Linked DNA regions of Homo sapiens: all the other regions are linked to region 2. The links are contacts of gene promoters, found by promoter capture Hi-C in blood cells and fetal thymus (Javierre and others, 2016). All regions are on one chromosome and are shown on one strand. The core of a region is centred on a gene start or on the middle of the fragment in contact, and the rest is flanking DNA. Distances in the headings are between cores, read along the strand shown. Region 1 has its middle 31 kb from the start of EOMES. Region 2 holds the start of CMC1 (C-X9-C motif containing 1). Region 3 overlaps LINC01980 (long intergenic non-protein coding RNA 1980). Region 4 has its middle 45 kb from the start of LINC01981. Region 5 has its middle 89 kb from the start of LINC01981. Region 6 has its middle 88 kb from the start of LINC01967. Region 7 has its middle 21 kb from the start of LINC01980.

Region 1 (3,619 bases), core at 530-3,029, 490 kb after region 2:
AACAATGTCAGTGCTCTTACTGTTTCTCTGTGATCCTCCAGTTTTCTCTTCTCATGGTCATAAGAAAGCCACTGCAGGGTCAAGCATCATGTCCACATTTGAAAACAGCTAAAGACAAGAAGGGAAAAGTACCTGTCTTGTGTCCGTCTTTATAGCCAGGAAAAACTTCTCAGAAATTCTCAATAAGCCTTTTCTTAACATCTTGAAAGGCAGAGCTGCTTCACATGCCCCGACCTATAGCAATCTCTAACAAGAGGAATGGAATGACTGCAATTGGCTTAAACTAGTTGCCTCCCTTAAGAAAGTGTGGCACATATACACCATGGAATACTAAGTAGCCATAAAAAGAGGATGAGTTCACGTCCTTTGCAGGGACATGGATGAAGCTGGAAACCATCATTCTCAGCAAATTATCACAAAATCAGAAAACCAAACACCACATGTTCTCACTCATAAATGGGAGTTGAACAATAAGAACACATGGACACAGGGAAAGGAACATCACACAAGGGGGCCTGTAGGGGGTGGGGGGCTAGGGGAGGGATAACATTAGGAGAAATATCTAATGTAGGTGATGGGTTGATGGGTGCAGCAAATCACCATGGCACGTGTATACATATGTAACAAAACTGCACATTCTGCACATGTAACCCAGAACTTAAAGTACAATCAATCAATCAATCAATCAATCAATCCAGTTGCCTCCCAAGAAGTATGAGACCCTGGGTCCAGGACTTTTATGTAAAATATGATACACTGGAGTACAAGAGGAAAATATTAATGCCACCTCAATATTTCTTATCCCTGACTTTTTAAACTTTAATATTTGGGTTCTTATTTTATTTTATTTTAAGATGGAATCTTTCTCTGTCGCCCAGACTGGAGTGCAGTGCTGCGATCTCGGCACACTGCAACCTCTGCCTCCCAGGTTCATATCTTGAAATAACTATTCTTGATTTTCCTAGTCTGACCCACCCTACCCTCCCCAACCACCCCACCCCCCACTCACCACCATGTCCTCAGCCTCTCAATGTCATAATTTTGGTTACTCCCATATTTGTTTTTTGGTTTTTGGTTTTTGGTTTTTTTTTGAGGCAGAGTATCGCTCTGTTGTCCAGGCTGGAGTGCAATGGCACACTCTCAGCTCACTGCAACCTCCGCCTCCTGGGCTCAAGCCATTCTCCTGCCCTCAGCCTCTCGAGTAGCTGGGATTATAGGTGTGCGCCACCATGCCCAGCTAGCTTTTGTATTTTTAGTAGAGATAAGGTTTCACCATGTTGGCCAGGCTGGTCTCGAACTCCTAACCTCAAGTGATCTGCCTGCCTCGGCCTCCCAAAGTGCTGGGATTACAGGCGTGAGCCACCGCACCCTGCCTGGTTACCTCAGTATTTGAAGTTCACTGCTGGGCCATGCAGTACATTGTGACAAATTTTTCTTTTCTGCCTAAGTTTTTGTTTTCCTCCAATTCAACCCCTATCTCTCTTCCAGGTGTCTAAATTTCCTCATAAGACATTCAGATACAGCAAGTATTGTATTACTTCTATTTTCTCACAGGAATCTCCCCTGGAGTTTTCTGACCCAGTTCACAATAAACTGGTTGCCATCTTGCCTCATGTAGCATTTCCTCTGCTTTCTTCATCACCATCTTGGGTTTCACTTTGCCTCTTTTCTGTGTTGGATCCTCTGTTTTCTGAAACCTATGACATGCATTTTTTTCTGTTTACTTTTTTGTTTTGCTAACCCACATCCTCCAGTGGCTTTCTGAGAAAAAAGTACATGGGGCATATGTTTCTCGAGAGCATACATATTTGAAAAATCTTTAATTGACATTCCTACTTAAGTCATAATTTCACTGGGTATGGAATCCTAGAGTGGAAATAAATTTCCTTCACAATGTTGAAAGCATTGCTCTAATCCTGCCTAGCTTCCAGTAGTGTTATTGAGAAGTCTAAAGAAATTCTGATTTCAGATCCTATGTTTGTGATTTGTATTTGTTTCTGGAAGCATTCAGGATCTTATCTTTGACTCCTGTGTTCTGAAAGTGCCCAAAGATGTGCTTTCATATGGGTCTATTTTATACGTTGTACTGGGCTCTCAACGGGTCCTTTTGGCCTAGGAAACCATGTCCTACAATTCTGGAAACTTCTCTTGAATTATTCCATTGGTGGTCTCTCTTCAGTTTCTCTACTTTCTCTTCCTAAAATTCAAATGATATTCAAATGGACCACCTGGACTGGTCCTCCAATTTTGTATCTTATCTTCTTTTTTCTATATGTTCGTTTTTGTCCAAATTTTGAGAAAGTGTCTCAGCTTTACATTCCAAGCCTTCTTTTTTTTTTTTTTTTTTTTTAGACGGAGTCTCGCTCTGTCGCCCAGGCCGGACTGTGGACTGCAGTGGCGCAATCTCAGCTCACTGCAAGCTCCGCTTCCCGGGTTCACGCCATTCTCCTGCCTCAGCCTCCCGAGTAGCTGGGACTACAGGCGCCCGCCACCGCGCCCGGCTAATTTTTTGTATTTTTAGTAGAGACGGGGTTTCACCTTGTTAGCCAGGATGGTCTCGATCTCCTGACCTTGTGATCCACCCGCCTCGGCCTCCCAAAGTGCTGGGATTACAGGCGTGAGCCACCGCACCCGGCCTCCAAGCCTTCTTTGCTTCCTTGCCACTAGTGTTTTTAAATTCTAAGAATTCAAACTCCTTTTCTGCATATTACAATACTCCAATTTTATAGCATCATCCTGTTGTTTCACGGATTTATGATATCTTTCAGAGGATATAGATGATAGTTGAGTTGTGGCTATGTTGTTGTTGCTGTTCTGTTTTTTTCCTTCTATGTTTCCTTCAAGTTGCTTTTGTCTTCTTGAAAGTTTTAGTCTCCATGTTTTATGGTACATGTGAATGGTGATTTTTGGTTATCTTATATTCAGAAGTTAGGGACCAAACAATAGTTGATTGTAAGGCTCAAGTCAGCTGGCAGGGTGTATGTATTACAAGGATCACTGTAGAGTTACAGGCCTGGAATGTTTTATAGGGAGAACCCCTGACATCAAAACTTTTAGCATTTCTATCCTAATATTTGATGTAGTCTGATTCCTCAGAGAAGGGGTGACAAATCTCCTGCCTCATGGACATGGGCCTGACTGCAAGTCTCTGGAATAAGATAGAAGAAAAAGACCGGCATTCTCAAAATTCAGAATATAAGCATTCACTTCTTCCTCCTTCTATCTGGCATCCCCAGTCCAGAGAATGTGTCTGATGAGGGAACCATCCCTCTTCTGGCTGGGTTGGAGAGGAACTGTCACCTAGTGCAAGGAGTAGAGGGGGCATCAGAGACTCTCACCTATTTATTGATATGTTTTGGCTGTGTCCCCACCCAAATCTCATCTTGAATTCCCGCATGTTTGGGGAGGGACCCACTGGGAGGTAATTAAATCGTGGGGGCAAGTCTTTCCCATGCTATTCTCCAATAGTGAATAAGTCTCATAAGATTTGATGGTTTTAAGATTTGATGGTTTTAAAAAGAGGAGTCCCCTGCAAAATATTTCTTTGCCTGCTGCCATCCACGTTAAGACATGACTTGCTCTTCCTTGCCTTCATGCCATGATTATGAGGCCTCCCCAG
Region 2 (3,821 bases), core at 1,071-3,570:
TTCCTCATAAAGCTCTTCACTGACTAATCTCTTCACCATCTACCACATGACATTATTTTCTTCATGTTTATCACAATCTGTAAAAATGTGTGTGTGTATGTGTGTGTGCCCACGCACGTGTCTGTGTAGGGGGAAAAGGGGGTGTTAATTGTTTTTTCTACCACTAGATAAGCTTTATTGGGAGCAGGAATTTTGTTTGTCCTATGTACTACTGTTCCCTAGGGTCCAGAACAATATGGGACATATACCAGACACTCAACAAGTCTTTGTTTAATCAATACTCAAAAGGTGGCATGGTCTACAGCACTGGACTGGAAATGAAATTACCTAGGTTCTAACCAGACTTGACTCTACCAGCAACTAGCTGTGTGGCCTTGGGTACAACACAAGATTGGAGTGGCTTATGAGTAACTGGAAGGTAAGCAAGTGAAGAGAGCAAGTATGAAGACTTTTTTCCCAAATTTCCTTGTCTAAATTCAAAAAGTGTAGATATATGGAAATCTTTAACCTCTCTCATTCTCAGTCTCCTCATCCGTATGAGATTACTTTAAAGGTCACTTCAAGTTCAGAAGTACCATAATTAGGCTGGGTGCGGTGGCTCACACCTGTAATCCCAGCACTTTGGGAGGCCAAGTCAGGCAGATCACTTGAGGTCAGGAGTTCCAGACCAGCATGGCGAACACGGCGAAACCTCATCTCTACTAAAAATACAAAAATTAGCCGGCCGTGGTGGCGGGCGCCCGTAATCCCAGCTACTCAGGAGGCTGCGGTGGGAGAATTGCTTGAACCCAGTAGGCGGAGGCTACAGTGAGCCGAGATAGCGCCACTGCACTCCAGCCTGGGCGACAGTGAGACTCCGTTTCAGTAAAATAAAAAAAAAAGATACCATAAATTATATGGGCCTAAACTTGAACCTTCCTTACTCACCCCTCACTTATACTCTACCCCTTCTACCCTCAAGAACCAAATCATGGTAGTCATCCTGAAACCAAGCATCGCACAGTGCACCTTACTATCTAAACCTTTGCTCATAGGGCTGCCTCTTCTCCAGCTCCAACCACTGGAAATTCCATCCCTCAAAGCCCAGATCAACTGCTAACTGCTTCATAACCACCTAGTCCAAAATGAATATGATCATTATGTTCCAGAACTCCTCTATGCTTCAAATTAGAGTACTCCCTGATCTACCACTACCTGCTGGACTAGTCACTTAACTTCTCTTCGCCTCAGTTTCCTAATCTGTAAAATGGAGCTAAAAGGACCTACCATACCACATATTATTGTTGGATAATAGAGAACACTTAGCATGGTAATAACATGTTCAATTAAAACATTATTTCTGTGCTACATATATTTTCCATGCTCCTTGAAGGCTCCGAAAGAGCATTTTCCATTTCTGAATCTCCCAAGTTTGACGCCATTTACCTCTCAATGTTTTGACTTTTTGTATCCATAAAATGAAAGAAATGGACTAGACCAACTACCATTCCCTCCAAAAATGTTATCTATTCCCTTGCAAAAATAGCCTAACGCAAAGATACTGCAGGTGACCTTCCACAAGGACGGGAATTCGAGGGTAAGTTAACTATTGCTGCAAACGGAAGTGGCTGGAAGCAAAGAGATTAAAACAACATTCAAGATTTTGAAGATCCTTTCCAAAGAAACTGACTCCTGCCATAGTGATGGATCCTTTGAAATATGTTTTTAAGTTGGGTTACAAGGATGAACTCGGGGTCCATGAACTCCCAAACAGAAATGTAAAACTGTGCGCCAGAACAAATATACAAATTTTTCTGGGGCCAGAGTGTCTGCAGCATACATTAAATGCATCTGTGACCTTAAGGGGCGAAAAGAGGGTGACAATGAAGAGACTAGTCGCGTTAAGTTGGAAACCACAATGGATGATACTTTAGACAACAAACGCAACCTCAGATAACCATAATCCCCAACAAGTGAGAAGATGACCTCAGACCGGGCGAAGCAGCCGCCGGGTATGAGGAGACGCTGGTGGAAGCAATGCTACCCAGAGCTCTGCACCTTTCCCAGGTCGGCATCCAGCCCGCATGGCCCGCGGCGTGAGACCCGGGGCGAGGCCCCTCGGCAAACCCCGCTTCCCGCCCCGGTACCTGCGGGGTCGAGCGCCATCTCGGCGGGCCGAGAAGAACGTAGCCGCTTGGCGGCTCCGGGGCACGCAGGAAGGGGAGTGGAGGGGAGGGGCTTGGGCTCGGACGCACGTGCGACCCCCGGGAGCTTCCCGCAACAGAAACACGGGCCCTTTGCAAAGCACCGCCAGGACCCGTTCCCTCTTCCTTCCCAGGCTCCTACTTCCGCCGCCCGTTGCGCCTGCGCCTTTCTGGCCCCGCCCCAATCCTGTAACTAGAGTGGAACTGACTTCGCAGGGGGAATGACCAGGAAAGGGGGCGTGTCTGCGTGCCTTTGGGGCGGGACCGTGCAGGACGCGCGCAGCCTCGCTTCAGGAGGCTTGTGCACCAGTTGCAGACCCGGGTCGGCCGTGACTGGAGGCGGACCTGCAGGACTTTGGGACTGTGCCTCACTCGGTGACTGGGCCAAAGTCCGAGCCCCGTCCCCCATACCCGCCTTCGGAGAACCAAATGAATCATCCAGTTCCTTTTTTTTTCTTCGTTAACGTTCATTCATTCATAAATGTCTATTTCATGCCTGCCAAGTTCCAGCCACGGTTCTGAATACGAGGGGAAAATAACAATAAAAATAACGTCCCTGTTCTCAAGGAGCAGTGTGGCAGAGGAGACAAATAAAAGCAACACGCTGTTAAATGTGATAAACGCCACACGCACTAGTTGTTCACAGCTTGTTCTACCATAAAGGTGATATGGTGTGTGCAATATCGTTATTTCTCCTTCAAATCAAAGACTGTGGCTCTCCTAGACGTTAAAATATGGGCTCTAGAAGTACCTCTATGTTGTGAAATAATATCCTCAGGACGTACAGTATGATTTGGGTGATGTTACAAATCCTGCCTCTATCAGTAAAAGCTGTATGTTTTGTGAGAGTAAAATGAAGGAAGGTAATAGCCGTCCCGCTGAAGACCCACTACTCACCTCTTCTCAATAGAAGAAACTTTCTAGGTGGCACTTAGGTTCATTTCCACTCACAAACCAGCCTTCAGAAGTGCTTCCTTGTCAAATTCACGTTTAACTGGCTCGAGCCACGAAAGGGTGAGCTGAGGCCTGGGACAGATGGGACAGATGTTTAGAAAAACAAGGAGCAGCTGCTTCTTCCCTGCAAGGGATTCAGGGCTTTCAAAATGATCCCCTCCCCACCTACCTGCAGTCCCTCCTCCCCTGCTGCTGCTTCCGCCTGGTCAGTTGGCAGAAAAGCTGAGGCAGTTGAGCAGGGCTGGGAAAGTGGGTCTCTGCTCAGCAGGTCTTCCGTTTAAGGGCCTATTTGGGCATAACGGCCCTTATTACAGCTGTAGGTTGAGGTGCCAAGGTGAAGAATTAACGTTTCACTCACCCAGCCAGGGAATCAGGTCCTTTTCCTTGTATATTTTGTAAATATGCTTAGAAATACACCAAAATGACTCTGGTATGCCTCTTTTATTGTTCTGAAGGTGAAGGATTTGATTTAGAAAGCTAAAGCAATCTTTTTGAGGAGATGGAGTATGAAAACACAGGTCAGACACCCATATTCAAGAATTAAACTAAATCTTTCTATATGCAAAAGGGTATTATGGTAAAGGAGGAAAGTTTGATCTGTTATCTTAGTGAGTTGAGTAAGTTCTATTATTTTTCTGGACTTTGGTTTCCAATTTACAAGGTTGTTCTGAGGAATAAATGTGA
Region 3 (3,509 bases), core at 54-2,553, 440 kb after region 2:
ACAAATTCTAGAATCTCTAATTGTTCTAGCTTTTGGAGATAGAGAACCAAATTGCTGGGGGCATAACTGATGATGGGACCAGAAGTGACTTACAGCAGGAGATTGTCTATTGTCCTCTGTGGGTCCAGCGGCCTCCAGCCAGTTTCCTTCCCTCTTCTCCACTAACACAGGCTGAGCAGACTGAGAACATAGAGGTTTACAAATTAGGGAAACTAGAAGAAACCAAGCTTTGGCCTCTAACTGTTGCAAGCATATTTAGTAAAATAGCTGAGACTTCATTGCTTTCAGAAAATACTAAGGAGGAAGCGATAGCTTCCCCTCTAGAAGCATCTCAGAAAGATCCCTTGGGAATAGAGCCATGTGAGGTGTGAGAAAGTGGAGGAGAATATGACTTTGCTGGGGAGTGGTGGGCTTTCTTTTTGCCCTGCCTAACTCCATGGGCAGAGTTAACTCTGTGGGCTTTCTTAGGCCACAGAGCTCCATATCCTCAAAACAATATCTCACAGGAAAAAGAAAATGTGGAGCTAGGATTTGCAGACTATGAGTTAGCATCAATGGCTGCACAAATATCACCTAAAAGCCACCTCTGGTAAACAGTCTTGGCAGGGCAGCTCAGTCTTCTTAGAAAATTGGCCTCATATGTTGTAAACAGATGGATTCAGACAGAGACACTCAGGAACATATCTCCAGTCCTGGTACTTAACCCTAACACCAACTGTCTCTACCTCAGCTTTCTGACAGATCCAATGGATTCCTCAAAGAATGGCACCCAAATTGCTCTACTAGGTATCCACACAAATGGCAAAGCAAAAGAACAGGCAGACCTGTGGCTAAAGCAAAGGGAGAGAAAAAAAACAACATTTAAAGAAGAGAAGGCATTTATGAGTAATATGCTGTGGTAGTTAAATCCTTATCTTCTTTGAATTCTTTTAGAAATAATATAAATATAAAAAGACAAGTAATTTTCTCACCTAATTTGCTTGTGGAGCTGATAATTAAGTGTTGTTGATTGCATCACCAGAATGAATTTGTGATACTTGCTGTAGTGTCTCTGCATATTTAAAGACGAAAATGTTCTTTCTGGTGCTTAGTAAAAATATCATTTTTATGAACCCTTTCCCTCAGGCAGTTCTGTAGCCTCCATTCCCTGTTTATGGAGCTGCAAGACTCCCTGTCTGAGATATGACAAAATCAACTTTACACCTAAATGTGCCTGTCAGCCCAACGGCTCCTTAACTCTGAGAAAAAGGCCCAGATTCAGAGGCCTACAGAAATTCCAGACATTTTCAGAGAGATCTTTTCCCCCAATGATCTGCATGTGTCTTGATTATTCTAACCCCCACCCCCCTTACAGTTGAAAAAAATGGTAGGGAGGAAAAAATGTTTAATGGTTAAAAACTCCAGCTCCGGAGGCATGCCAAGTGCGACTTGCATGAACTTGAAAAAATTACTAAATTCTTTGACCCTCAGTTTCCTCACCTTCAAATGGGAACAATACTAGTAACTCATAGAGATTTGGGAAGGATGAAATGAGTGAATGCATGGGAAGCATTAAACACAGGTCTGGAGCACAGTAAGAGCTCCATACACTGTAGATATCAACATAGCCACCATCATCATCTTCACTATTCTAGAGGTATTCAAAGTAGTTGCATATCAGAAAAACCTGAGGAAATTCTTAAAAATACATATTCAGAGATCCCACACCCAAAACCATATTAGAACTGAGTATGATCTTGATTATTTCTTCTGAGATCCTTGGGTGAATAAATGCTCAGCTAGGCCTGGGAACCATTGATCCAGGCCTGCCTCCGCAAAACCTTAGGGGCTGAGCACAGAGAGTCATGGCTTTAGAGGCATTCAAGGTAAAAGACAGAGCAAGCACCCCACTGCTCCTTGAAGAACCATGGAATTTAGTCCTCAGGAAAGACTATCACCATAATTATCACTGGGTATAAGTAAGCCCTCTTCTCTCAGCTTTCTTACCTACTGGTGCCAAGGACACTCATTGCTAACATAGAGAGGTATTCCAAAGAGATTGAACTTGCTCATTCTTTGAGCAAGCATCATAGTAGAGACAGCAGCATAAATACGGATGAAGTATCTTTTTTTAATAGGATTGGTGGAAGACACTCAATTCCAACTTTTTAAACAAATTTGCCTGATTAAGTTTAGCTCCCATATGGTTAGTTACTATTCTTTGCATAAATATGCTCAGTTGAAATGGTCAGCAAGATACATTACTCCCATGAGATATGGTATTCTCCTGCTAGTTGAGACAGAGGTAGGAAAAGAAGCAAAAAAGTTCTTCATTCCAGTTGGCTGTGTCAGACGAATAATTGTTTGGGCTATGGATCAGCAGTTTTTACTCAAGCTTTCTTATGTCTGCTGCAACTCAGGCGATGGCTTCATGAGAAACCAGTGGGGGTGACTGGGGTGACCAGATCTTCACAAATTCTCAGAACTAAAGACAGCAAGCAAAGCCTTGCACTTCCCCATAACATCACAGCCATGAGTGATTCATCTCTGGTAACCCACTGCAGGCTGGAGTAGGGAAAAAATATATCATGCACACATCTCATTTCCATTTCCACCGTCTCTTCCATTCAAGAAATATCTTTGTTGGTATCTACCAACAACATTCTAAGAGGGATAAACATACATTTGGTCTAGTTCATAAAAATTGAATTTTCAGTGGGGCTTGGTGGCGTGGCTCATGCCTGTAATCCTGGCGTTTTGGGAGGCCGAGGCAGTGGATCACCTGACGTCGGGAGCTCAAGACCAGCCTGACCAACATGGAGAAACCCCATCTCTACTAAAAATACAAAATCAGCTGGGTGTGGTGATGCATGCCTGTAATCCCAGCTACTTGGGAGGCTGAGGCAGGAGAATTGCTTGAACCCAGGAGGCAGAGCTTGCAGTGGGCCAAGATCATGCCACTGCACTCCAGCCTGGGCAACAAAAGTGAAACTCTGTCTCAAAAAAAAAAAAAATTAAAAAATAATAAAAATTAAATTTTCAGAGTTCTTTTTTTTTTCCCAAATGTTATCACTTTATTGGGACTTATAGCACAGCTACCAACTAATACTAGGTTTGAAAGGTATTGCTGTAGAACAGTGGTTCTCAGCTTGGGGTGATTTTGACCTCCTCACTGGCAATGACTGGAGACATTTTTTTTGCTGAAATAACTGGGGCAGGGTACTGCATAAGGGCATCTGGTAGTTAGAGGCCAGAAAGGCTGTTAAACATCCTATGATACGCAGACAAACTCCCCAATCAAAGAATTATCTGGCGCCAAATGTCAATAGTGTCCAAGATCGAGAAAACTGGCAGTAGAAGAATTTGTAAGATCCAACTCCTGCTCACCTCTAAACCCCTGGGCCCCATCTGCACGGCAGCATGTCTCTTTTGCACCCCATCAAAACATACAGATCACCAACATTGTTTTTTATTGTTGGCTTGAAGGGCAGCCTCCACAGTAGGTGACATCTGTTTGCCGAAATCTCTCC
Region 4 (3,704 bases), core at 25-2,524, 360 kb after region 2:
GAGACATTGGGAGAAGATATTCCCATGGTGCTCATAGTTCTTAGAGCTGTCAAAGGCCAAGAAGCTCCTGAAGTGGCAGGCTCTGACTACTGGCTTTCCAATTTACCTTGTTTTACTTCTTCCTCACCAGAGTGCAGTAAGGGAGGTAGTATGTCCCCCATTTTATAGAGGAGGAGACTGAGACTGGGCTGGGTAGCAAGAAAGCAGAGGCAGGAAAAAAGAGACGGAGTCATCTGGCATTTACAAGGCACTAAAATCACTGGAAATGAAATACAATGAAGACAATGCTATTTCCCAAAACCACTTTCAGAAAAGACTTACATGTGGGTTGCTTTACCAAGCCGCTTAGGGGAAGAAAAAGAAGGGGCAGAACTAATCCTCCAAAGAGGCTTGAGATAGATAGAGCTCAAGCTGCCTTCTAAGAAGGGATGGGAAATTTGGGCACAGAGCTTTTCTTGTGCTGGGTTGAGTAAGCTTAGGGGAGGAAAGGTGTGATATTTTCCTCAGCAGTCATAGGATCCAAGCCTACACACCTATAAAAAGGACAGGTAAACAAGAGAAAAGCATAACACAGTTATTTAATCAAAGTTTTATGTGACACGGGTGCCTTTAGAAATGAAGATCGGGAGATCCAGGGAAAACTGTCTATTTTTTTTAGGTTCAATGAAGAATAGACAGCCATGTAGAAATGTGATTGGACAAAAGAGTATGATCTAATGATAATAGGTGGCAAACCCAGCAAGGCCTTTCCAGAATCTTCTTGTCTTCTCTGTGTAACATTCCTTCCTCCTGGATATGGGACAGGGCCCTCGGAATGAGGTCTTCAAGTAAGAAGGGAGAAGGGGAAAAGTGACCTTTTTAGTTTTTATGGCTTGCTTTGGGTGAGAGGAGGACTAGTTTCTATGACCCACCTTGCAAAAGTGAAATTCTGGTTTCTGTGATTTGCTTTTGAAGAGAAAGAGGGGCAGGAAACCAGAGGATGGGAGAAGGTCAGGCAGACCTTGTTTCTGAGGCCCTCCATGTGTCCTTCAGTTCAGAGTACTCAGCACACCAAGGTGCCATATTTGGGGTATTGTGTTCTAAGCCCCAACATAAGTTTGGGATTAAAGGCAAATTGGTCTGGACAGTTGAGCAAGAATAGTACTTTTTCCCTATCCAGCTTCCACACTGCTGCCCAGCCTCTCCTCTAAATGGCATACATTGACAAGGAGAAGAATGGGACAATATCTCTTTCCTCATTGATGGAATTCTCTTTTTGAGGAAATCTCTCCTTTCATGATAGTGATAAAATTTTGGAAGTTGGAATGCAGAAGAGCACATAACTGACTGACTAAATAGACCAAAGAAAGCTGATCACCAGACATCTGAGGAAACACACAACATGAAAGTCAGAAGTCTAAGAAAAGACTGGGTGTGGTGGCTCACACTTGTAATCCCAACACTTTGGAAGGCCAAGACGGGAGGATTGCTTGATGCCAAAATTTCAAGAGTAGCCTGGGCAACATAGCAAGACCGCATCTCTACAAAAAACAAAAGTTAGTCAGGCATGGTGGCATATGCCTAGCTACTCAGAAGGCTGAGGCAGGAGGAACACCTCAGCCCAGGATTTGGAGGCTACCATGAGCTATTATCATGCCTGGGTGGTAGAGTGAGATATTATATGCATGAAATAAAAACAGGATTCTATTTTTAAAAAACCAAACATGCAGACAACGAGACTGAGTTTTAGAAAATGAAAACCTGAAAGCAGAAATGAACATCTCAATTGATGTGCTAGAAGATAATTTACAAAAATTTCTTGGAAAGTAAAGCAAAAAGACCAAGACATGGAAAATGAGAGCAAAAAAAATTTGCAAATTAGAGCTTAGAGAGTGTCCAGAAGACTAACCATCTAAGTAGAAGAAATTCTAGAAAAGAAAACAGATACAATAATCAATATTACAGCTTAAGAAAATTTCTCAGAATTAAAAGTCTTATTGAGGTTCACCACAAAAATTAAAAATAAATCCTCACTGAGGCCCACCAGTGTAGTGCTTCAGAACACTAGGATCAAAGACAAAATCCCAAAGCTTTCAGAAAAGAAAAAAAAAAAATGCTTACATTAAAAGGACCAAGATTCAGAATGGCTGTAGATTTCTCAATAAAACAGTAGAAACTAACAGAAAAATGGGGAAATTCTGAGGGAAAATAGTTTCCAATTTAGAATTCTATGCCAAGACAAGGAGTAAAATGTCAGCGTGGATTAAAGACACTTTTAGATATGTAAGAGCTTAACATTTTAATCTCCTATATCCTTTCTCAGGAAACAATTATAGGACACACCATCGAAATGAGAGATTAGGGCTGGGCGCGGTGGCTCATGCCTGTAATCCCAACATTTTGGGAGGCCAAGGCGTGTGTATCATTTGAGGTCAGGGGTTCGAGACCAGCCTGGCCAACATGGTGAAACCCTTTCTCTACTAAAAATGCAAAATTTAGCCAGGCGGTAGTGGCGCGCACCTATAGTCCCAGCTACTTGGGAGGCTGAGGCAGAAGAAACGCTTGAACCCAGGAGGCAGGGGTTGCAGTAAGCCGAGATCGCACCACTGCACTCCAGCATGGGCAACAGAGAGACACTCTGTCTCAAAAAATAAAAAAAAATTAAAAAATTAAGAGATTAAACCAAGAGAAGAATAAATACGGGAAAGACAACTCATAAGAGAAGGAAAGAGAAAATCTGAGCAATCAGCTAAGGCAGGCCAGAATTGAAGAGCCTTGGCTCAGATTTAGGGCTCCTTTCATTTTATTTCTATTTTATCAAGTTATGCACATAATTGTATATTATAGTTCAACAAGATTTATTATGAAAGTTAGCCCCTTGGGGGCCATATTCTTTTTCCCACTCCTTCCTACTCCTCAGAATCAACCACTTAGCTGCTTTCGCTGTCTCCTTTGTCATTGCTTTCAAATAGTTAAATAATATAGTCCAACTTGAATTTTCCTTTTAGCCATTTCCTATTAATTCCCTAATGTGGGAGTTAAAGTTTCCCTATCATCGTCACCACCTGCCACAACCACACACCCTATGCTTTTAAGATGGGTCTGCTTATCCAAAAAGTTGGCTTTTGCCTTGATTTCCACATGGTATTAAAGCTTTCACTTTTGCTTCCTGTCATTCAAGATTGTTTTTTGCATGATGCATGTGTGTGACCTGATGATTGAGTCTGTGGGCTTGAAGTAAAGCAAAGACAGGGAGGCATTAAAAATGAAATTTTCTATAATCAAGACAAGCACACAAATGTGTGAATAAGATTTTCAACAGAAACATAACAGAGACCAGGCAGAATATGGGGCAAAATAGAGAAAGTGATAATAAGTAGATTTATCAGGGCAGCACAAGCGAGAAATAAAAGCAAGTTCAAGATCAAAGAAAACACTCAGCCTTCTTACTTTAGAATCAAATTGGCAATTAGCCTAGACCACCTTCCACAATGACCACAGAAGCGCTATGTGATCCAAACAGGAAGCACCAGCCTCAGAAATTTTTAAAGTCCCTACTGTGAACTTCTACTCTTTTATCTGCCCATCTCCTCTCTCTTCTTATAGGAACAGACAGACTCTCTTTTGGAGAACTGCTTCTCTCTCCAGGCTAACCATGTGGTTCTCACAGGGACTATTTGTCCTAATCTTATCCTCTGGCCATATTGATTAATTGCAAAGTAAAC
Region 5 (3,874 bases), core at 846-3,345, 320 kb after region 2:
TTTCCGTGAAGGAAATATCGACTCCGATTCATCATGTTTTCTTCTAAATAGCCATAGGCTCTTTTGAAAAATGGAAGTTACAAACTTCACCATATCTTAAAGTTTACTTTCTCCTATGGCAACCTTTACCCAAAGAAATGAAGGCAAAACACCTAGCTTCCCAAATTGGAGATAGAGAAAAGGAGGGATAAAGTTAGGAGTAATAGAGAACATGAGAAGAAAAGTATCAGAGTTTTAAATTTTCTCATCTTATTACCTTTTTGGTGATATTCAATCAAACTGAGTCAATTCCATGATCAAATAAGAAATATTTTCCCAGGACCTACTCCATGGCAAGCATTGTGTGATGAATAAGACACGGGCCTTATTTTCAAGACACTTACTTTCTTATCACTCAACTAGGTCTCATCCTTTCCATTTCCTCTTCTTCTGCTTTATTTTAGATTGTATAATTTTTCAGCTGTATTATTATAAGCTTTTCACCTGCTTCAAATCTCTTGCCCTTCAGTTTTATGTGCCTCCAACTCATCCTCCACACTTTCTAAAACATTAATCTAATCATATCATCCTTTTACTTAAAAAGGTGCAGTGCTGCAATTATCTTCAGGCAAAATGCCAACCATGGCACTCAGCCCTTGAAAACATTATTTCCTCTAGTTCTGAAAACAATTATATCAGATAGCTATTATAATCTCAGTTTTACAAACAAAGAAACTAAGGCTCGGAAATCTTAAACTGTCATAACCAAGTCCATGGGGCTGGGAGAACCAGGACTCAAAATCAGCTTTCTTGTCACTAGATCCATTGCTTTTAATATTAATATTCTAGTCTCTTTAACCAGTTTCACCTCTTACTCTTCTGGAGAAAAACTGCTACTGTTACTACCATTGCTACACTAAGTAACAACATCATTTTAGATTACACGTCCTTATTTGTCAACAATATAAAGAGGCAAGGAGGAAGAAGACACTTACCTAGCTGGCTGAATCAGTCAGTCAAATGAGCCTGGCAGTCCATGGGTGACAAATTTTGAGCCAAATCACCCTTGCATGCAATGTATGATATACAAAGACTTAAAGATAACATACTAAGTGACCTGTTCCAGTTCATACACTACATTATTGTGTAAGTAGAACAGAAATCCCAGTCTCTGAATCCTCTGTCCATAAACCATACCAAAACACACAGATCCTCTAATCCAAATGAACAGAAACCTTTTAATAAGTTAGCCCAGTATAGCAAGCAACTTAACATTTTTGAAAGTTTTAAAATATGGCAACTAATCACATATCTAGGAAGTATGTGGTACAGTTAAATGGCAATTCACAGGCAAACCTCAAAAATACCAAAGTTGCTTATGACTGTAAACCTCACTCAAGTTTTTTTCCCAAGTGGTTTCAATATTCAGTTGGAAGAGTGACAGTTGGACTTAATGGTTTTATTTTCTCACTTTTCTTCAGAAACCAATCCATCTCACTACTGCAGTGCTTTCCAACCTTTTTAAACCCATGACCCCTTTGGATAAACTGAAAATCTCATGACACCATTCCCTTCACCGCCACCCAGAGCTTTGTGTATGCAGAAAATAAATTATATTTCTGACATACCATGTCAGATACGAAAAATTTTTGCATTTTATTTTGAAGTTGTTGTAAGAAAAGGGGTGTTTGATTTTCCAAATATAAAAATATTTTTTAATATTTTTTCTCAAATTATACAGCATGTTCTCATACTCCATCTTGGCCCTCCCAGCTAATAATCAATTGCATGATTCCACTTGTTAATTTGTGATTTATGCAATACTGAATTTCAGTTTAAGGCTCTAAATGAGTCCACTATTATCCAACTATTTAGAAAAGTTGTCATTCCTAAAAGAGTTCCCAGTTAAAAAGGAAATCAAGGAATAGAAATGAAATTATCAAACTCACAGAATATTTAAGTGCCCAGAGTGCTAAGAGGTGATTTGGCCTCATGCTTTCTACTCCAGATAGGTGGAACCTGAATCTCTGGGCCTGTTGTCTATGGATCTGGATTATAAAAAAGCATCCAAGTTGGTTCTAATAACCACCTGGATTGGGGAGCCCATTATTTCACAGGAGAGAAAACTAAAATGGAAAGAGATTAAGTACAGCTAACCCAATTTGCTGACTTAATTTAAGCAACTTTTAAAAAAAATAGTGTTCAGAATTTTATTTTATCTACCAACTCTAATTTGATTAAAAAATATATATTTTTACAATCATTTTATCTTCCTCCTTTTAGAAAAGTTGCCCAGATAGATAAAAATAACAAATTGGATACATTCCTTAATCTCCTCTCAGACTTATCACTCCAATAAAATAGCAATAAAGGAGTAAAAACAATATAACCCAGCAAGAAAAGGAGAGGCGTGATTACATTTTTAGAAAATGTAAAGCAGAGGCGGGGCGTGGTGGCTCATGCCTGTAATCCCAGCACTTTGGGAGGCCAAGGCGGATAGATCACCTGAGGTTGGGAGTTCGAGACCAGCCTGACCAACATGGAGAAACCCTGTCTCTACTAAAAATACAAAAAAACCCAGCTGGGTGTGGTGGCACATGACTGTAATCCCACCTACTAGGGAGGCTTAGGCAGGAGAATCGCTTGAACCTGGGAGGTGGAGGTTGCCGTGAGCCGAGATCGTGCCATTGCACTCCAGCCTGGGCAACAAGAGTGAAACTCCTTCTCAAAAAAAAAAAAAAAAAAAAAAAAAAGCAGAGAGTTGAGTAATGACTGACATGATAGGGGAATGAGCTTCAATCTAAAATACATACCGAGGAGATACCAATGAGATGTGGACTTATTTGCCCTAGAGAACTCAGGAGCAACTACCATGACACATGTCACAAGGGAAAACTTAAAGTAAAAAGGCATATGAATGACTTGACATTCTAGATATGCACTCATGCCGAGCACAGTGGTTCAATCCTGTAATCCCAGCACTTTGGGAGCCTGAGGTGGGTGGATCACAAGGTGAGGAGTTTGAAACCAGCCTGGCCAACATGGTGAAACCTCATCTCTACTAAAAATACAAAAAAAAAAAAAAAATTAGCTGGGCATGTTGGGATGCGCCTGTAATCTCAGCTACTTAGGAGGCTGAGGCAGGAGAATTGCTTGAACCCGGGAGGTGGAGGTTGCAGTGAGCCGAGATCACGCCACTGCACTCCAGCCTGGGTGACAGAGTGAAACTCTGTCTCAAAAAAAAAAAAAAAAAAAACAAAAAAAAAACGATGTGCATTTATATACCACCTTCCCCCACCCCCATGCAGAGCTGCCAGCAGCCAAATGCCTCCACTCCCCATCACTGCAAATCATTAATTCTCCAGTGTAAGTGAAAGGGCAAGATTGTACTCAGAAGCACCAACCACAGCAGAAGGTAGGACTGAGGTACAAGATTGCAAAGAGAATGACGGAATAGTCAAATGAAAAAATGCATGCTGAATGGATTCAAACCTTTACATAGCTAGGTGTCTACCTCCAGGGAGGAAGATGAAGGATTCATTTTCAGAGATAGTTAATGACCACTATAGACTGAAATTGTATGTATGTTTGTTAGGGAAAGGAGTATCCAGCAATCAAACAGCCAGTTCTCTAGAAAAGCACCAAAAATGAAGACAGCCTCAAGCCTGAGGTCTTCTGTGTTAGTTTGCTAGGGCTGCTATAGCAATGTTCCACAGATTGAGTGGCTTAAAGCTTAAGCCTTAAACAACAGAAACGTATTTTCTCATAGTTTTAGAGGCTGGAAGTCTAAGGTCAAGGTGTCAGGATAGTTGATTTCTTCTGAGTCCTCTCTCCTTGGCTTATAGATGGCTGTCTTCTCCCTGTGTCTTCACATGGTCTTTCCTCTGCATGGGTG
Region 6 (4,012 bases), core at 174-2,673, 300 kb after region 2:
CTTATTTGTCATTTTTCCCATTGCTTCAAAACTTATAATGTCATCTTATTCCAGGGAGGTTTAATAAGTATTACATCCTGGTTTCTTATTATCTTCTTATTGGTACTATCATTTGATAATAAGACAGACACAAAAACACAAACATAAAAATGTTTGCTGGGAAATTATTGGGGAATGATTATTGTATTTTTTCTCAAAATTATATTCAGCACTATTGTTTTTAGAACCAGAAAATCCCCACAGTGATCAGAAACAATGTGCAGGCTAATACAAATTCTACTTTGGCATTTTTGGCCATTGTAAATGGCCATGGGCAAATCATGTCACAGGACTCTGATGTGCCATTTTTAAATGCATAGGTGAGAAGTTATCCTCAACTCTGGTCTATTCTCAAAAGACAGCTGATGACGCAGAATGCCACAGGATCAGGAAGAGCAAGGCAACTCAGGTGTCATAGGCACCAAGTGACATTCCCTATTTCATTTGAAGCTTAATGCAGAAATGATTTTTATTTTCTTATAACTATTTACCTTGAGGCTTTCTAAACTCTTTGATTTTTTAAAAGTCAGATCCATTAAACCTAGTCAAAAGCAGTCATTTTATTTGGTAGTTAGAAGAAAACTCCCACACGCAGAGATTTGCTTTCATCACACCATATTGGCATCCTCTCCCTCCTCCTTGCGGTAAGCCAAGGGGACTGAATGCCAGTCTATGGAAGATGGTTTTCAAGAAGCAGTGTCTGTCTTTCCACACAAGTCCTGGGGCCGTAGATGGAATTGTGGTCCTTGCAGCTCCCTCAGTAGTACAATTTGTTGCTTTAGTCAATTGAGGGCTCGCTCCAGCTGTTACAACCTTGAAGAAAGCAACCTTCTCCAATGTGCCTTTCAAAGGACTTCATGTCTAAAACACCAAAAGCAATGGCAACAAAAGACAAAATTGACAAATGGGATCTAATTAAACTAAAGAGCTTCTGCACAGCAAAAGAAACTACCATCAGAGTGAACAGGCAACCCACAAAATGGGAGAAAATTTTCACAACCTACTCATCTGACAAAAGGGCTAATATCCAGAATCTACAATGAACTCAAACAAATTTACAAGAAAAAAACAAACAACCCCATCAAAAAGTGGGTGAAGGACATGAACAGACACTTCTCAAAAGAAGACATTTATGCAGCCAAAAAACACATGAAAAAATGCTCACCATCACTGGCCATCAGAGAAATGCAAATCAAAACCACAATGAGATACCATCTCACACCAGTTAGAATGGCAATCGTTAAAAAGTCAGGAAACAACAGGTGCTGGAGAGGATGTGGAGAAATAGGAACACTTTTACACTGTTGGTGGGACTGTAAATTAGTTCAACCATTGTGGAAGTCAGTGTGGCGATTCCTCAGGGATCTAGAACTAGAAATACCATTTGACCCAGCCATCCCATTACTGGGTATATACCCAAAGGACTATAAATCATGCTGCTATAAAGACACATGCACACGCATGTTTATTGCAGCACTATTCACAATAGCAAAGACTTCGAACCAACCCAAATGTCCAACAATGATAGCCTGGATTAAGAAAATGTGGCACATATATACCATGGAATACTATGCAGCCATAAAAAATGATGAGTTCATGTCCTTTGTAGGGACATGGATGAAATTGGAAATCATCATTCTCAGTAAACTATTGCAAGGACAAAAACCCAAACACCGCATGTTCTCACTCATAGGTGGGAATTGAACAATGAGAACACATGGACACAGGAAGGGGAACATCACACTCTGGGGACTATTGTGGGGTGGGGGGAGGGGGAAGGGATAGCATTAGGAGATATACCTAGTGCTAAATGATGAGTTGATGGGTGCAGCACAGCAGCATGGCACATGTATACATATGTAACTAACCTGCACATTGCGCACATGTACCCTAATACTTAAAGTATAATAATAATTAAATAAATAAATAAATAAATAAATAAATAAAAACACAATATAAAAAAAAAAAAGACTTTGGTGAGCCACTTCCCCCACCTTGATTGTGGGCAATTATGTGTGGTCTGCTGAAGGAGGAAGTTCATTGATACTGTATTCTAAATCAGTAGTTCTCAATCTTTACATCAAAATAAACTTTAGAGATTTAAAAAAAAATTATATAGATACTCCCAGAGATTCAGATTCAATTGCCGGGCATGGGCCTAAGTATCAGTATTTTTAAGCAATCCAGGTGATTCTATTCTGCAGCCACAATTGACAACCACTGCCTAAAATTTTAACCAGCTATAGTGACCAATTTGTCCTTGTTTGTCCAGGTTTCCTCATTTTAAAACTGTAAGTCTCATGCCCAAGGAAGCTTTCAGTCCCAGGTAAACCAGAACAATTGGTAACCCCAGGCCTAGAAGTCTGTGCTCTCAACCTCCTAAAGAAGACCTGAGTCATATAAATCATATAAATGCACAGGCTCTGTAATTATGAAGAGGAAGTAGCACTAGGCTCACAGTCCAAAAACCCAAGTTTAAGCCTTTCTTTTTGCCATTCCTAACTATGCGACTTTGGGGAGAGTCACTTAACTCCTTACAGATTGAGTGTCCTCAGTTCCCTGCTTCTTCACTGCCATGTCATTATGGGGATCAAATAACAGCTCACATACCAGAAGAGGAGACTGAAGTTCAAGGAGGATAAATGACAATGCTGGGGTCATTGAGTCCGTAAGACATGTGACCTGACTTCCAGGCCTGATTGTCTTCCACTGCAGCTGTCATGTAAGAATGCAAAGAGGGATTCTCATGGCTACGACTGACCTATGAATCACCATCGCAGGCTGAGAGCAAAGCAGCGGGCCATTCACATTCCACACACTAGCTTCAGTGTGTATATTTATGAACTTTTCTCTTTGATGTTTATTTTGAAGTAGGATTGTCTGTATTCAATGTGTTTGGAGGAGATAGCTTAATTTGCCCCAACTTCCAGCTCCTGGGGGTGGGTGTAGACTGTGCCTGAGCAGGTGCTTGAAGGGAAAATTTCAGCTACCTCTCCCATCATTGTGTTACAACTGCCTACAGTATTCAGTACAGTAATATGCTATACAGGTTTGTAGCCTAGGAGCAATAGGCTACACCATTCAGCCTATGTGTGTAGCAGGCTATACCATGCAGGTGTGTATTAGTACACTCTGTGATGTTCAGATGATGAAATCATCTAATGATGCATTTCTCAGAACATCTACCCATCATTAAGCAATGCATGACTGTAGTTGCCTAGTGAGAATCACAAAATCTTTCTCTAATTAGAATTTGTACTTAAAGGATATTACTGTGTACCTTTAAAATAGCACACAAGCCACATAAAATGTAATATTCAACAAAACATATTTGCTAATCCAGTTCAAATAGAAAAATAATTTTTAATATTAAATTAAATGCTATTTAATATTTAAATTATCATTAATATCATTTTGAATATTTTTATGGGCAAGATACTTTATATAATTACATTTCATCATCATTATTGTCTTCTAAGGCATTATTACCTCATTTTTAAGAAGAGAAAATAGGCTCTGTGAGTTTAACTGACTTGTTTGGTGTCACTTAGCTAGATTGCTGGTAGGGGAGGGACTTGTAATTTGCCTGACTACCATTTTCTCTTATTCTACACATTCTACCTAATGTCTAAATAGTTCCCTCAACAGAATCTATGTGTTTCTAGGATCACTATTTATCCTTTGTCTCCTATCACCTAGTACATAAATGTTTAGTATCTTAGAATCCCAACTTTCCATATATTTCACCATATACCCCTTTAAATTCTCTATGAAGTGTCTGACCAGATCACAGACAAAGGAGAATTGGGGCTAGACTTATCAGTCCCTTCTCTCTAACTCAGTGAATATCTCACTACCATTGACCAGCTGGATGTCAGCATGTCACACATTATTCTGAGAGCGTAGTAAGAGCCCCTCAGGTCGGCAGATAATCAAGAAACAGTGTTACGAGAGTTGACATCTTATGAATAAT
Region 7 (3,784 bases), core at 733-3,232, 460 kb after region 2:
CACCAAAATTCCATGACAATATGTTCTTTTATTCATAAACTTGCCATAATTGCAGTAGTGTGCTGGTAAAGCATCTCTCTGTGGAGAAAAGCTCTGATTTGCAGCATTTGCCAGTTTTGGTTGTGTAAATACTCTCACCATGGCAAATTTCAAACTGCCAAAAGTTTAACTACCAGCTTTCAAGTTTTCTGGATATTTAGTAATCAATTCTCAAGGGGTGATACAACCTGGCACCAGCCCACTTCTTAAGCAGCTAATAATAATGACTGGGATTAAATTCATTTTAGAGGAATATATACATGTAAATCATATATATTTCTATTCAACTAACATGTTCCAAGATTGAAAATATTGTACACATTCTAGAGAATCCCTTTCTTTCCATTCTTACTGCCACCACCTTAGTCACCTAAAATCCAGATTATTAAAAGAGACACCATCACTGTCTAGATTAGTTTGGATTTCCCCCCAGAAGCACAGCCTAAGAAAAGGATTTGAATTCGGGTAGTTTGTTTGAGAGGAGACAGAATCATTCACATGGGAGAAGGGAAGCAAGCATCTGTATTACTCATGCCTTCTATTTCTGAATTGTGATGCTCTGACATCTGGGGCCTGGCTGACTCTGGAAGTTCTGCCACGCGCAGGGTTAGCCAGTTCCTGGAGATGGTTAACAACTTGCCTATGAATGCAGTTTTCAAATACAAACCCACCAATCCACAGCCCACACCCTAAACACCTCCTTTATTAGGCTGTCACATTCCCAGCCATAATCCATCTGGTCTAATCATTCCAGAGCCAGATACCAGACAACTATGGGGTAGCCCCTATATCTCAGAGCCCTTTGAAATTGTTCAAATAAGCCAGTCCTGTTTACCCTGCCTCACCCATTCTTTTCCTCAGAAACCTACAGTTCCTCCCTCCTTCTGCTTCCTGACCACCCCCAATACTTCACCCTCCTTCCCCTGCTGGGATGGCATGCCCCCTCCTCCTGGAACTGTGAGTAATAAACTATCTTTACAATAGGAATCATCTCGTGATCTGTTGTCCTTATTATACTTATATTTTTTAGTAATTCATCATGTTTTAAAAGAAAGTCAAAAGTAAAAGCAGTCACTAAAGGGTATATTTTCAAGCCAACTACCAATGTGAGCTACTGGAATTTAATTTCACTTAGAGCCAGAACAGAACATACACCTCAAAGTTATTCCTTTGAGGGGCAAGGGAATTTGGGGTATTTACACATAAAATCCTATCAGTCACTGGTAAGGGGATGACAAGAGAGAAACATTAATATTCTGTCTATTCTGGTGGCAGAGCTGGTTCCAATGACAAGATAGAGCCCTCAGGCAAAGAAAATCAGGTGCTGGCAGTTGATAGACTGGGGTGCCCTAAAGTGGTACAGGGGTGATATTAGTGCTGCACCAATAATGCGACTGCACTATCACTGACCAGTTCTTTCTGGACCCTGGAACCCTGACATCCCTTTTGAGCCAGTAACCACCAGTGATGTCACCTGAAATTGACTGCAACTTTAAGGACTACTGATTCCAAACTATGTCTCACCTTCATTTAATTACAAAAATACATGACGACCAGGTTCTCCTAATCTCGAACCCTTCTCCAGTAATTTGGCCAATGGCCAAGTTCCTTGCAGCCCTCTGGAACCATCACCTACAGCCAACACACTGACTTAGCAGCTTCACAGACTGCTTTTTTTTTCTACTTCCACAGCAATACTGAAATTTCCTACACTTTCAACTTAGCTCCTTAAATTGGACCCACATGAAAAATGTGTAGGAACCTGCCAGTCACTTGCAGCCCATAGAGAAGCTCAGGAATCGCCTCAGGCCCTCCCCACTCTATGGCTTCTGTAACCACCTTACTTACTGACACTTGTGTGTCCCAATGTCATTTGGATCCCTACTTCAGTGCCTCTCTCTGTTTTCTGGTTGAGCAATTTGATTTCCAAATGTTTACCACCCTCTGAACAGGCAGCCTCTTAGAATAATGCTGCTTCCAGAAATTGCCTGTCAGTCTATCACACTGCCTCAAGGCTCCCACGTTAAATATTTGCTAGATGAATGAATACATCCAAAGTAATGAAGAGCAGGAGATGTTATGTTTATCCTGACTTCCCATTGCCACTTCCCAACCTGTGTAGCAACCCTTCCTCCTCTATACCATCACCTTCACCCTTTCTCCATATCGACTCATTTCTCCACAAAACCTGCAAGACTTGGCAGCCTTCCTTCCTCCCCCAAGTTTTGGCAGGGGACAAGACAGATTATGTGGTAGATGATCAGCTAAGAAGGCTACCAACAATTGACACACAGCTTCTCCATCAAGTGGAGGAGTCCAGTTCCCCTCATCTTGAATCTGAGTTTGGCTCTGCGATTTGCTTTGACTAGCAAAATACAGATGATGTTCTCTGAGTTTTAGAGCCTAGGCCTCAACAGGCCAGGCAGCTTCCATTTTTCCTCTCTTGGGACACAGCCACCACATAATGAAACTTGGGCTCAATTCCTAACTGACGGAATATCACGTAGAGAGAAAGAGTGATGCAAGCAGCCTTCAGCCACTCCAACCGTGGAGACAAGGCTCTAGACATGTGAGTGAAGTCATCGTGGATGTTCCCAGGCTGGTTTTCAGCCACATGAGGGATTCAGCTGCACCATGTGAAGCCAAAGAACTGCTCAGCGGATCCCAGTCAACCCGCAGAACTGTGAGAAATAATAAAACTGTTATTTTCTTAAGCCTTAAGTTTTGAGGTTCTTTACTGTGCAGCAATAAATAACAATTTATTTAGTTCCCTTATTTCTCTCCCTACTATGCCCTTTATTTATTTATTTGCTTATTTATTTGTTTGTTTGTTTGTTTGTTTGTTTTGTAGAGTCAGAGTCTGGCTCTGTCACCCAGGCTAGAGTACAGCAGCACGATCATGGCTCACTGCACCCTCAACTTCCCGTGCTCAAGCAATACTCCCACCTCAGCTTCCTGAGTAGTAAAGACTACAAGTACATGCCACCAGGCCCAGCTAATTTTTTAAGTTTTTTGTAGAGATGAGGGTCTCACTATGTTGCCCAGGCTGGTCTCAAACTTCTGGGCTCAGGCAATCCTCCCGCCTCAGCCTCGCAAAGCACCGGAACCACAGGTGTGAGCTACCATACCTGGTGCATTTATTTTACTAATAGGAAAAAAGTCTAAGCACTGAAAAAGGAATAACTTACAATAACATAACTCTGTTAATAGAATCTGGTGACCAAATCACTGGTTGAATGTATATTGGCTTCATAACAAAGAACTACTTTTTAAAAACTTAATCAGTACTAGCCAGTTGCAATAGCCCCAAACCAAAGACTTCCTAAAGGCCCACAAAAAGTAGAACTGTATAATAAATTGTCATATATTTGAATAACAGGATACCATACAGCAATGAAGACTATGTACAACAGTATGGGTGAATCTTATAAATATGCTGTTGACTGAAGGAAGCCAGACAGGACAGAGTACATGCTGCATTATTTAACTTTTCTGAGGACAAAACTGGCAACTCTTGGTGATGTTGATAAAAGCCAGAATCACACTTACCCCTCAGGAGGAGGTAGGGACAGGAATGAAGCCTGAGGTTGGCATTGGGGGTAAAGGTAATATCTACTTCTTGATTTAGGCATTGGCTGCACACGTGTGGTCAGTTTGTGAAAATTCATTGACCTATAGACTTTTGATATACGTATTTTACTTCAATGAAAAGTTTTAAATATTAATCAGGATTAGAAGAATATTC

Evidence for each region. Contacts are between HindIII fragments. The CHiCAGO score rates a contact against its expected background, and 5 or more counts as called.
Region 1: a contact is called between a fragment that was not itself captured here and the fragment with the promoter of CMC1 in region 2, in 7 of 17 cell types (total CD8 T cells, total CD4 T cells, naive CD8 T cells and 4 more). The highest score is 9.4, in total CD8 T cells.
Region 3: a contact is called between a fragment that was not itself captured here and the fragment with the promoter of CMC1 in region 2, in 1 of 17 cell types (naive CD8 T cells). The highest score is 6.4, in naive CD8 T cells.
Region 4: a fragment that was not itself captured here is called in contact with the fragment with the promoter of CMC1 in region 2 in 7 of 17 cell types (total CD8 T cells, non-activated CD4 T cells, total CD4 T cells and 4 more); the score reaches 9.0 in total CD8 T cells.
Region 5: a fragment that was not itself captured here is called in contact with the fragment with the promoter of CMC1 in region 2 in 2 of 17 cell types (M2 macrophages and total CD8 T cells); the score reaches 7.9 in M2 macrophages.
Region 6: a contact is called between a fragment that was not itself captured here and the fragment with the promoter of CMC1 in region 2, in 3 of 17 cell types (M2 macrophages, naive CD4 T cells and total CD8 T cells). The highest score is 6.6, in M2 macrophages.
Region 7: a contact is called between a fragment that was not itself captured here and the fragment with the promoter of CMC1 in region 2, in 3 of 17 cell types (naive CD8 T cells, total CD4 T cells and total CD8 T cells). The highest score is 6.2, in naive CD8 T cells.

Annotation. Positions count from the first base shown.
Region 1 is chr3:27,751,152-27,754,770 of GRCh38, reverse strand. No RefSeq gene overlaps it. Among named protein-coding and RNA genes, the nearest start is that of EOMES, 31 kb to the right of the region's middle. The HindIII fragment of the contact is 6,751 bases long and covers 1-3,619 here.
Region 2 is chr3:28,240,118-28,243,938 of GRCh38, reverse strand. CMC1 (C-X9-C motif containing 1) reads right to left here and starts at 2,320. Exons shown (of 4, transcript NM_182523.2): 1 at 2,127-2,320. The coding sequence starts at 2,145. RefSeq lists a silencer at 2,028-2,107. The HindIII fragment of the contact is 9,835 bases long and covers 175-3,821 here.
Region 3 is chr3:27,799,435-27,802,943 of GRCh38, reverse strand. It overlaps LINC01980 (long intergenic non-protein coding RNA 1980), which reads right to left. Exons shown (of 5, transcript NR_146630.1): 2 at 94-180. Among named protein-coding and RNA genes, the nearest start is that of LINC01980, 3.6 kb to the right of the region's middle. The HindIII fragment of the contact is 2,147 bases long and covers 230-2,376 here.
Region 4 is chr3:27,877,622-27,881,325 of GRCh38, reverse strand. No RefSeq gene overlaps it. Among named protein-coding and RNA genes, the nearest start is that of LINC01981, 45 kb to the right of the region's middle. The HindIII fragment of the contact is 1,595 bases long and covers 477-2,071 here.
Region 5 is chr3:27,921,037-27,924,910 of GRCh38, reverse strand. No RefSeq gene overlaps it. Among named protein-coding and RNA genes, the nearest start is that of LINC01981, 89 kb to the right of the region's middle. The HindIII fragment of the contact is 3,236 bases long and covers 478-3,713 here.
Region 6 is chr3:27,938,869-27,942,880 of GRCh38, reverse strand. No RefSeq gene overlaps it. Among named protein-coding and RNA genes, the nearest start is that of LINC01967, 88 kb to the left of the region's middle. RefSeq lists an enhancer at 2,373-2,965. The HindIII fragment of the contact is 1,863 bases long and covers 492-2,354 here.
Region 7 is chr3:27,775,077-27,778,860 of GRCh38, reverse strand. No RefSeq gene overlaps it. Among named protein-coding and RNA genes, the nearest start is that of LINC01980, 21 kb to the left of the region's middle. The HindIII fragment of the contact is 9,075 bases long and covers 1-3,784 here.